Regions from separate parts of the Homo sapiens genome. Here region 1 is linked to region 2. The links are contacts of gene promoters, found by promoter capture Hi-C in human tissues and cell types (Jung and others, 2019). All regions are on one chromosome and are shown on one strand. The core of a region is centred on a gene start or on the middle of the fragment in contact, and the rest is flanking DNA. Distances in the headings are between cores, read along the strand shown.

Evidence for each region. The method cuts DNA at HindIII sites, captures the fragments that hold promoters and counts their contacts. A contact is called where the count stands out against the background at its distance.
Region 1: a fragment that was not itself captured here is called in contact with the fragment with the promoter of ZNF680 in region 2 in 2 of the 25 tissues and cell types used here (hippocampus and mesenchymal stem cells).

Annotation. Positions count from the first base shown.
Region 1 is chr7:64,707,249-64,712,325 of GRCh38, forward strand. ZNF107 (zinc finger protein 107) reads left to right here. Exons shown (of 4, transcript NM_001282359.2): 4 at 1-4,329. The coding sequence ends at 1,408. Among named protein-coding and RNA genes, the nearest start is that of MIR6839, 31 kb to the left of the region's middle. The HindIII fragment of the contact is 5,049 bases long and covers 1-4,943 here.
Region 2 is chr7:64,560,027-64,564,940 of GRCh38, forward strand. ZNF680 (zinc finger protein 680) reads right to left here and starts at 3,045. Exons shown (of 4, transcript NM_178558.5): 1 at 2,899-3,045. The coding sequence starts at 2,928. RefSeq lists an enhancer at 2,634-2,993 and a silencer at 3,094-3,203. The HindIII fragment of the contact is 27,021 bases long and covers 1-4,914 here.

The sequences.
Region 1 (5,077 bases), core at 1,169-3,668, 150 kb after region 2:
TACTGCACATAAGAAAATTCTAATGGAAGAGAAACCCTACAAATGTGAAGAATGTGGCAAAGTCTTTAACCAGTTCTCAACTCTTACTAGACATAAGATAATTCATACTGGAGAGAAACCCTACAAATGTAAAGAATGTGGCAAAGCTTTTAACCAATCTTCAAACCTTACTGAACATAAGAAAATTCATACTGCAGAGAAATCCTATAAATGTGAAGAATGTGGCAAAGCTTTTAACCAACACTCAAACCTAATTAACCATAGGAAAATTTATTCTGGAGAGAAACCATACAAATGTGAAGAATGTGGAAAAGCTTTTAATCGATCCTCAACCCTTACTAGACATAAGAAAATTCATACTGGAGAGAAACCCTACAAATGTGAAGAATGTGACAGAGCTTTTAGCCAGTCTTCAAACCTTACTGAACATAAGAAAATTCATACTGGAGAGAAACCCTATAAATGTGAGGAATGTGGCAAAGCTTTTAACCGATTCTCAACCCTTACTAAACATAAGAGAATTCATACTGGAGAAAAACCCTATAAATGTGAAGAATGTGGAAAAGCCTTTAATCAATCCTATCAACTTACTAGACATAAGATAGTTCATACTAAAGAGAAACTCAACAAATGTGAAGAATTTGGCAAGGCCTTTAAACAGTCCTCACACCGTACTATACATAAAATTATTCATACTGGAGAGAAACCCTACAAATGTGAAGAACATGGCAAAGTTTTTAACCAGTCCTCAAACCTTACTACACAAAAGATAATTCATACTGGAGAGAACCTCTACAAATTTGAAGAACATGGAAAAGCTTTTAACCTATTCTCAAACATTACTAACCATAAGATAATTTATACTGGAGAGAAACCCCACAAATGTGAAGAATGTGGAAAAGCTTATAACCGATTCTCAAACCTAACTATACATAAGAGAATTCATACGGGAGAGAAACCTTACCAATGTGCAGAATGTGGCAAAGCCTTTAACTGCTCCTCAACCCTTAATAGACATAAGATAATTCATACTGGAGAGAAACCTTACAAATGTAAAGAATGTGGCAAAGCTTTTAACCTATCCTCAACCCTTACTGCACATAAGAAAATTCATACTGGAGAGAAACCCTATAAATGTGAAGAATGTGGCAAAGCTTTTAACCAATCCTCAAACCTTACTACACATAAGAAAATTCATACTTCAGAGAAACCCTACAAATGTGAAGAATGTGGCAAATCCTTTAACCAGTTCTCATCTCTTAATATACATAAGATAATTCATACTGGAGAGAAACCCTACAAATGTGGAGATTATGGCAGAGCTTTCAACCTATCCTCAAATCTTACTACACATAAGAAAATTCATACTGGAGAGAAACCCTACAAATGTGAGTATGGCAAAACTTAATTGATCCTACAAGCTTACTACACATAGGAAAATTCATACTGGAGAGAAACTACAAATGTGAAGAATGTGTTAAAGCCTTTAACAAGTCTTCAACTTTTTCTGCACACACGAGGTATTTTATACTGGTGAGAAACCTTACAATGTAAAGAATGTGGCACAGCTTTTAACTAATCTTCAAACCTTACTGAAAGTTGAGAAAATTCGTACTGGAGAGAATCCTACAAATGTGAAAAATGTGGCAAATCCTTTAACTGATCCTCAACTTTTACTAAACATAAGGTAATTCATACTGGAGAAAAGCCATACAAATGAGAAGAATGTGGCAATGCCTTTAATCAGTCCTCACACCTTTCTACACATAAGATAATTTATACTGGAGAGGAACTCTATAGTTGTGAAGAATGTGGCAAAGCTTTTAACCAATCCTCATACCTTACTATACAGAAATTCATACTGGAGAGAAAGCCTACAATTGTGAAGAATGTGGCAAAGCTTTTAACCTTCCTTAACCCTTAACTGTAGATAAGAAAATTCATACTGGAAAGAAACCCTACAAATGTGAAGTCTGTGGCAAAGCTTTTAACTGATTCTCAACTCTTACTACATGTAAGAGTATTTATACTGGAAAGAAACCCTACAAATGTAAAAAACGTGGCAATGCCTTTAACTGGTCCTCACACCTTGCTACATATAAGACAGTTTATACTTTGAGAGAAACCCTGCAAATGTGAATAATGTGGCAATACTTTAAACCAATCCTCAAACCTCACTAAACATAAGATAATACTGAAAACTTTACAAACCTGAATGATGTGACAATAATTTTGACAACACCTCGAACTTTCTAACATAAATCATACTGGTGAAAAATCCTAGAAATGTGAAAAATATCACAAAGCCTTTAAATGGTTGTCACACTTGATTGTAGGTAAGAATCCATACTGAAGAAAACTCCTGGAAGTGTAAAAAATGTGGCAACACTTTTAATAAATGCTCACCCCTTATTGCACAGGAAAGCATTTATACTTCAGAAAGATTGTACAAATACAAGGAATGTGGAAAAGCCATTATTATCTGCTCAGATTTTACTCAACATTAGAGAGTTAGTACGTAATAAAAGCATTATAAATGCAATTTTTGTCAAGAGATCTTTCAGAAAATATAAGCCTTTAAAGTGAAGAAGAGGAGCCAGTTGTGCTGGCTCACATCTGTAATGCCAGCACTTTGGGAGGCCAAGGTGGGTGGATCACCTGAGGGCAGGAGTCTGAGACCAGCCTGGCCAACATAGCAAAACCCCATCTCTATTAAAAATTTTACAAAAATTAGCTGCGTGTGGTGGCAGGCCCCTGTAATCCCAGCTAATTGGGAGGCTGAAGCAGGAGAATTGCTCAAACCTGGGAGGCGAAGATTGCAGTGAGCTGAAATCACACCACTACACTCCAGCCAAAGCAACAAGAGCAAAAACTTCGTCTCAAAAACAAAACAAAAAAAGAGTATTCATTGTGAGGACAAACAATACAAATACGAAGAGGGTTGTAGTACCTTTACTTGTATCACAGATACTTTTGTACCCATTTTGCACTAGAGGAAAACCATGAAGCAGTTGCTCAAATGTTGTTCAACACCAGAAAATTTATATTGGAGAAAAGCACTGTAAATGTAATGCATTTGTGAAAACATTTTTTAAAAAACTACAGCTTAGAAAATACCAGAGGCCTCATACTAAAATATATTTTTGCAAGTGAAGTAAATATAAAAATAATTTAATCCAAAATTAAGTCTATATAAATATCAGAGAATTCACAGTAGAAATATCTAAGGTACTGACACTTCAGACATTGCTGAGTATAGAATCAGAATGCTGAGTATAGAAAATAATTTAAAACTAAAGTTGGTAGGTAAATAATGTGTATATAACTTTAAAAGAAGTAGAATTTTTTTGTAGATGTATAATTACATTCAAATTATATTTTTTCTTGAAAAATTAGTTTTTGAAAAGCAAATGATGTAATTCAACTCAAATTCATGCTCTTCATTCCTATTGTATTCACATGTGAAAGCATGTGATTAATTTTTCATGCATCAAAGATATGAGAAATCATTTCTGTTAGGTCGGTATTATTTATGACACTTTCTATGAAAGAATAAGGACATTAAAATGTAAGATGCATGATGAAAACCTGAGTGAAGAGGCTGTTTGTGTTTAACTTATAATATTGAGTGATCCATGAAGTAGGTTTTCAGAGCAATATTCTTCTGCATTATAGTAAGAGAAAACCATTTTTAATCTTAGTTAAAATTAAAGTGAATTAGTAGTATATCATTTTACTATTTGTACTTTTATGTAATAAAATGCAATGTGTTTAAAAATTTTTGGATTATGCGTGAACTTAGTTTTTTAATTAAACTTTTTTTAACATGTTAAAACTATTGTGCATTCAATGAAGTGTTTTCATGCCACTGACTTTACCTATCCCACATTACTCAAGGGTTTAGGTAAAAGAGGGTAACAGTATACTACTTGATAACATAATGGGCTAACATCTCTAATAATTATTTTTGCTAGTGACTTTAAACTGCTAATAAAGAATATTGTTCCCATAGGTTAGATTTTTATTCTTTTTAAAATTTAAACTTATTTCTCTTAATTTTTGTGGATACATAGTATGTGTATATCTTTATGCCATGTATGGCATATTTTGATACAGGCATATAATTTTATGTATTAATCACATCAGGGCAAAAGATGTATCCATCAACTCCAGCATTTCTCCTTTGTATTACAAACCAATTCTGCACTTTTAGATACTTTAGAATGTACAGTCGTTACTACAGGGTCATTTTATGGTTATAATAAAAATTATATACAAGTATAAATAAACCATGAGAAAATTCTGAGTTCTGAATAAACATTTAAAAAATGTTATATATTTTTCTTTGAACATGTGACCTCTCTGCCTGCAAACATACAGCATTTTAGTTTTGATTTACATACACTTAACTATACACATATATTACTCTAAAAATGAACCTTAGGTATGAGAAAATTATGGAGCAAGTAAGTGTGTTTGTGTATTAGCTTGTACCTATTTTCAGAAGACGAGCAATATTGGAACAAAACTAATCTTTTTTTTTTTCGAGACGGAGTCTTGCTCTGTCGCCCAGGCTTGGAGTGCAGTGGTGCGATCTCGGCTCACTGCAAGCTCCGCTTCCCGGGTTCACGCCATTCTCCTGCCTCAGCCTCCCGAGTTGCTGGGACTACAGGCGCCCAGCACCACGCCCGGCTAATTTTTTTGTATTTTTAGTAGAGACAGGGTTTCACCGCATTAGCCAGGATGGTCTTAATCTCCTGACCTCGTGATCCGCCCGCCTCGGCCACCCAAAGTGCTGGGATTACAGGCGTGAGCCACCGCGCCCGGCCAAAACTAATAATTTTTAAAAGGTGACTAATTTACTAGACAACTGAAAACCTCAAAAATGCTGAAAGCAAATCTATACCCTCTGCTTTGCATTGAATTCATTTCTGTAAAATCTGGCTTACGATTTAGAATCTCCCCATGCAAAGTTTTTGTTTATACTTGCGTGATACTCATGCTACACCTTTAATTTTCTTGTTACTTATGCGTTTTTCTTTTATAATTTATCAGGTATTCATCATGTGAGCTGGTC
Region 2 (4,914 bases), core at 1,795-4,294:
AAAGAGGTACTAATGTTTTCAAGAATCTATGTAACTTCACCAATTACCTACCACATTTTCTGGTGGAAATGTATTCATTTTCTTTTCTGTTTTTTTTTTTTTTTTGAGATGAAGTTTCACTCTTTCGCCCAGGCTGGAATGAAGTGGCACAATCTTGGCTCACTGCAACCTCCACCCCCCGGGTTCAAGCAATTTTCCTGCTTCAGCCTCCCAAGTAGCTGGAATTACAGGCATGTACCACCACGCCCGGCTAATTTTTGTATTTTTAGTAGCGACAAGGCTTCACCATGTTGGCCAGGCTGGCCTCGAATTCCTGACCTCAGGTGATCCACCCCTCTTGGCATCCTAAAGTGCTAGGATTACAGGCGTGTGCCACTGCACTCGGCCGGAAATGTATTCATTTTCTAAAGCCAAAATGGAGAAGAGATTTTCTCTATTTTTTCCCTAGATAGCTAGCATTCTAAAAGTTAAGGCTTGGAATTCTGTTTGAAATTACCCAGCTAGGCTGGGTGCGGTGTCTCATGCCTGTAATCCCAATACTTTGGGAGGCCAAGGCGGGTGGATCACCTGAGATCAAGAGTTTGAGACCAGACTGGCCAACATGGTGAAACCTCATCCCTACTAAAAATACAAAAATTAGCTGAGTGTGGTGGCTAGCGCCTGTAGTCTCAGCTACTCAGGAGGCTGAGGGAGGAGAATCGCTTGAACCCAAGAGACAGAGGTTGCAGTGAGCCAAGATCATGTGACTGCACTCCAGCCTGGGTGACAGAATGAGACTGTCTCAAAAAAAAAAAAAATTACCCAGCCGTAAAAAAACTACCTGTGACAATTACTAAACTCAGTCTGGAAAACAAAATAGTAAATGAGAATTTTTAACAAATGGAATATATGTAGATATTAATTTTTTTCTGAAACTCACCTCTTTTACACCATTCGTAAATATTTTACCTTTTAATTTCCTTTACAAATTTTTCACTATTTGTCTTTCACTCTTTTTTCATCATTTTTTTTCACTATTTTTCTGCCCCCTTAGAGAATCCAGAAATTATTTCTATGTTTTTCCCTCAATACCAGCATCTGATTGACCAGCAATGTGTCCCAAGGAAACGGAAGCTGAGTTGGGTGAAGACAATCTTAATGTCTCAAGGTGTCAGCCTTTCCAAGGAAGAGTGCACCAGGAGATTTCTCTCAGCTCCAGGGCATCCACCTGCTCCCTCGAGAGGCTACACTTTGTACCTCAGGCAGTCCTGTGGGAGAAAATGACCCAGGAGCTGATATTCATTAGGCACTCTAGCAGACATAGTCATGGTGGGTATCATGGTTTATTCCCAGACAGTACTGAAACCCAGGACCAGGAAAAATCTGAAGGGTAGCCGAGGACACATCACCCCATAAAGTTTCCAAAGGGAAACTGTGACCCCCCAAAATTCTGATAAGATCTCTGTGCCTATGGAAGATAAAAGGAAAAGAGGCGCAGAGATTTTTTACAATAGTGTCCAGGGATTACTCTTTGCTTTCTTCTTACAGAAAATTTTTACAAACGGAAAACAAATCTTTTAAAAAGTACCATCCAATGATTTCTCAAAAAATGATTAATTAAAATATAGTATCAAAAATGTACACTAGGGCCGGGCGCGGTGGCTGACGCCTGTAATCCCAGCACTTTGGGAGGCCGAGGCGGGTGGATTACGAGGTCAGGAGATCAAGACCATCCTGGCTAACTTGGTGAAACCCTGTCCCTACTAAAAATACAAAAAAATTAGCCAGGCGTGGTGGCGGGCGCCTGTAGTCCCAGCTACTCAGGAGGCTGAGGCAGGAGAATGGCGTCAACCCAGGAGGCGGAGCTTGCAGTGAGCCGAGATCGCGCCACTGCACTCCAGCCTGGGCGACAGAGCAAGACTCCGTCTCAAAAAAAAAAAAAATTTACATTAGGCACAGTGGCTCACGCCTGTAATCCCAGCACTTTGAGAGGCCGAGGCGGGCAGATCACAAGGTCAGGAGTTCAAGACCAGCCTGTCCAACATGGTGAAACCCGTCTCTACTAAAAATACAAAAATTAGCCGGGCATGGTGGCGGGCGCCTGTAATCCCAGCTACTCGGGAGGCTGAGACAGGAGAATCACTTGAACCCGGGAGGCAGAGGTTGTAGTGAGCCGAGATCGTGCCACTGCACTTCAGCCTGGGCGACAGAGCGAGACTCCGTTTCAAAAAAAAAAAAAAAAAAATCTAACTCAAATACATTGTTTTTTGTAAAGTATTACATTGGGGGAAATAAAATTCTTGCTTAACCAACTATAAACTGCCAAGTACCCTCCGATTACATAACCAGAAAATTTCCACTTTGATCTTACAAATTAAGAAGTTATGTAACTGTACCTAACCGATTATTGAATTTGGTTTTATTCATCATACACCACTTAAAAGTCTTTCCTTCAAGCCCCTCCCATGGACCACAAATTACAAATCATAGCTGGGTGCTCTACGATTTTTGAACCACTCTTCTATTACATTTTTAAATATATTTGCAGTGACTTCCATGAATTTTTAATAGAAAAAAGGAGGGACTGGGACCCCATGGACCAAAGCGCTTCCCATTTATGAACCCTGCACCCCGAGTTATCGGCAGAGATGCGGCACTGCGGGTGCAGAGCTGCCCAGCGAGGGCTCCAGGCCAAGGCACAGTCACTGCGCAGGGAGGAGACATGACGCCCGGGGTCCGGCTGTCAGCCCAGCCGCCATCTTATGGCTGAAGGGGACTGAGGACCGAGCTGCGCCAAGGACAACTCGGGCCGCGGATTTTGGAGCCCAGTGCTTGGAGCCTGGAGTCCTGCCACAGCCACTTCCGACCGGTTCCAACCAGCCCCTCCCCCTCTCTCGGGGTGTCGGACCGCACTCTCACCATTTCTAGGCTTCCAGGTGGTCCTGGCATCTTAGCTGTGCATCTCCCAATACCTGCAGATAACGGAGTCACAGAGGCTGGGCCTCTAGGAGCAGAATACACAGAGCAGTAAAGACTAGACCTGGAGCTCCCGCAGCAGCTAGAGACAAAGGCCCCGCCAAATCCCGGAAGCCGTCCTGTCCGCTCCAGCTGCGTGCCTGATTGGACGGGTCCCAGCCCCGCGTCCCTGATTGGATAATGTTTAGGGCGCCACCCCCTAATGCCCTGAGTGACAGAATATGTGCTCAGCGGCTGGGCTGAACGTAGAAAGAGTGAAATCCAAGCTGCAGGGTTCTCAGGGAAGGGCTTCCTCCCTGAACGGACCAGGCTCACACCAGAGAGTATTTGCATATAACCCTGCGTATAAGGTCGTATGCCTTTATAAATAATATATTATGTGGCTATTCACACATGAAAATAATGCAATAACAATTATTTAAAATTTTCCAATTTTATGAGCTCCTGGCTTCTTGTCCTTTGAGCGGGTAGCCTGACATTTTTTTTTAAAAAGGCAGTCCTCTGAAATTGAATGTGAGCCACGTGAATTCTAAATTTTCTAGAAGGAAAATTTTAAAAAGAAAAAAAAACAGGAGGAATTCATTGTAGAAATTTAATTAACCCAATATATCCAAAATATTATCATTTTAATATGTGACCAGTATGTAATTATTAACAAAGTATATATATTTTGGAAAAAAAATTAAAACTATGTATTTTACCTTTCTACCACATCGCAGTTCAGACCAGCCACATTCCATGCACCCAGTAGCCACAGGTGGCCAATAGCTGCCACATTGAAGTGCAGCTCTGATGGCAGAAGATGAAATCCTGAACATCCCTTTTCTTTTTTCTTTTCTTTTCTTCCTTTCTTTTTATTTCCTTTCTCTTCTCTTCTTTTCTTTCTTTTCCTTTCTCTTCTCTTCTTTTCTTTTCAAACAGAGTCTTGCTCTTATGTCCAGGCTGGAGTGCAGTGGTGCAATCTCGGCTCACTGCAATCTCCACATTCCGGATTCAAGCAATTCTCCTGCCTTATTTTCCCCAGAGTAGCTGTGATTACAGGCATGTGCCACCATGCCTGGCTTATTTTTGTATTTTTAGTAGAAATGGAATTTTGCCATGTCAGCCAGGCTGGACTCAAACCCCTGACCTTAAGTAATCCTTCTGTCTCATCCTCCCAAAGTGCTGGGATTACAGCCATGAGCCACCACACTGGGCTTGAACATCCTTTTCCTGCCATAAATAAGGGGAAAGTCTTTCCCTACCAACATCTCTCTTCAGTTCCAAGGGTAGAACAGATAGTGGCCATAGAAAGAGCAGAGGACAGCAGGAATAAAATAACAACAGGAAGACCACCTGTTGCCCACCTTTCTTCCAGAGATCAGACAGTGAACAAAGGACGATGGGGCCACAGAAGAAGAATGCTCTATGTCTACAGATCCCTCCCTGGTCTTTCTTTTTCTTTTTTTCTTTTTTGAGACAGAGTTTTGCTCTTGTCACCCAGGCTGGAGTGCAATGGCGTGATCTCAACTCACTGCAACCTCTACCTCCCGGGTTCAAGTGATTCTAGTGCCTCAGCCTCCCGAATAGCTGGGATTACAGGCATGTGCCACCAAACCTGGCTAATTTTGTATTTTTAGTAGAGATGGGGTTTCTCCATGTTGGTCAGGGTTGTCTCAAACTCCCAACCTCAGGTGATCTGCCCACCTTGGCCTCCCAAAGTGCTGGGATTACAGGCATGAGCCACCACGCTCGGAAAACATTTTTATCTTCTAAACAAAACTCAATACCCCTGAAACAACTGCCCAATTTCCTATTATTTATCTTTTTCAAAATATCATTTTGGTTTCTGTTTCTAGCTATCTCATGTAAGTGGATTCGGACAGTATCTGTTTTTTGTGATTGTATACTTTATTTATGTTATTAAGATTCACCTCATTTTTTAATGTTACATTTCCTGATTTTGAAAAGTTGAGTTTA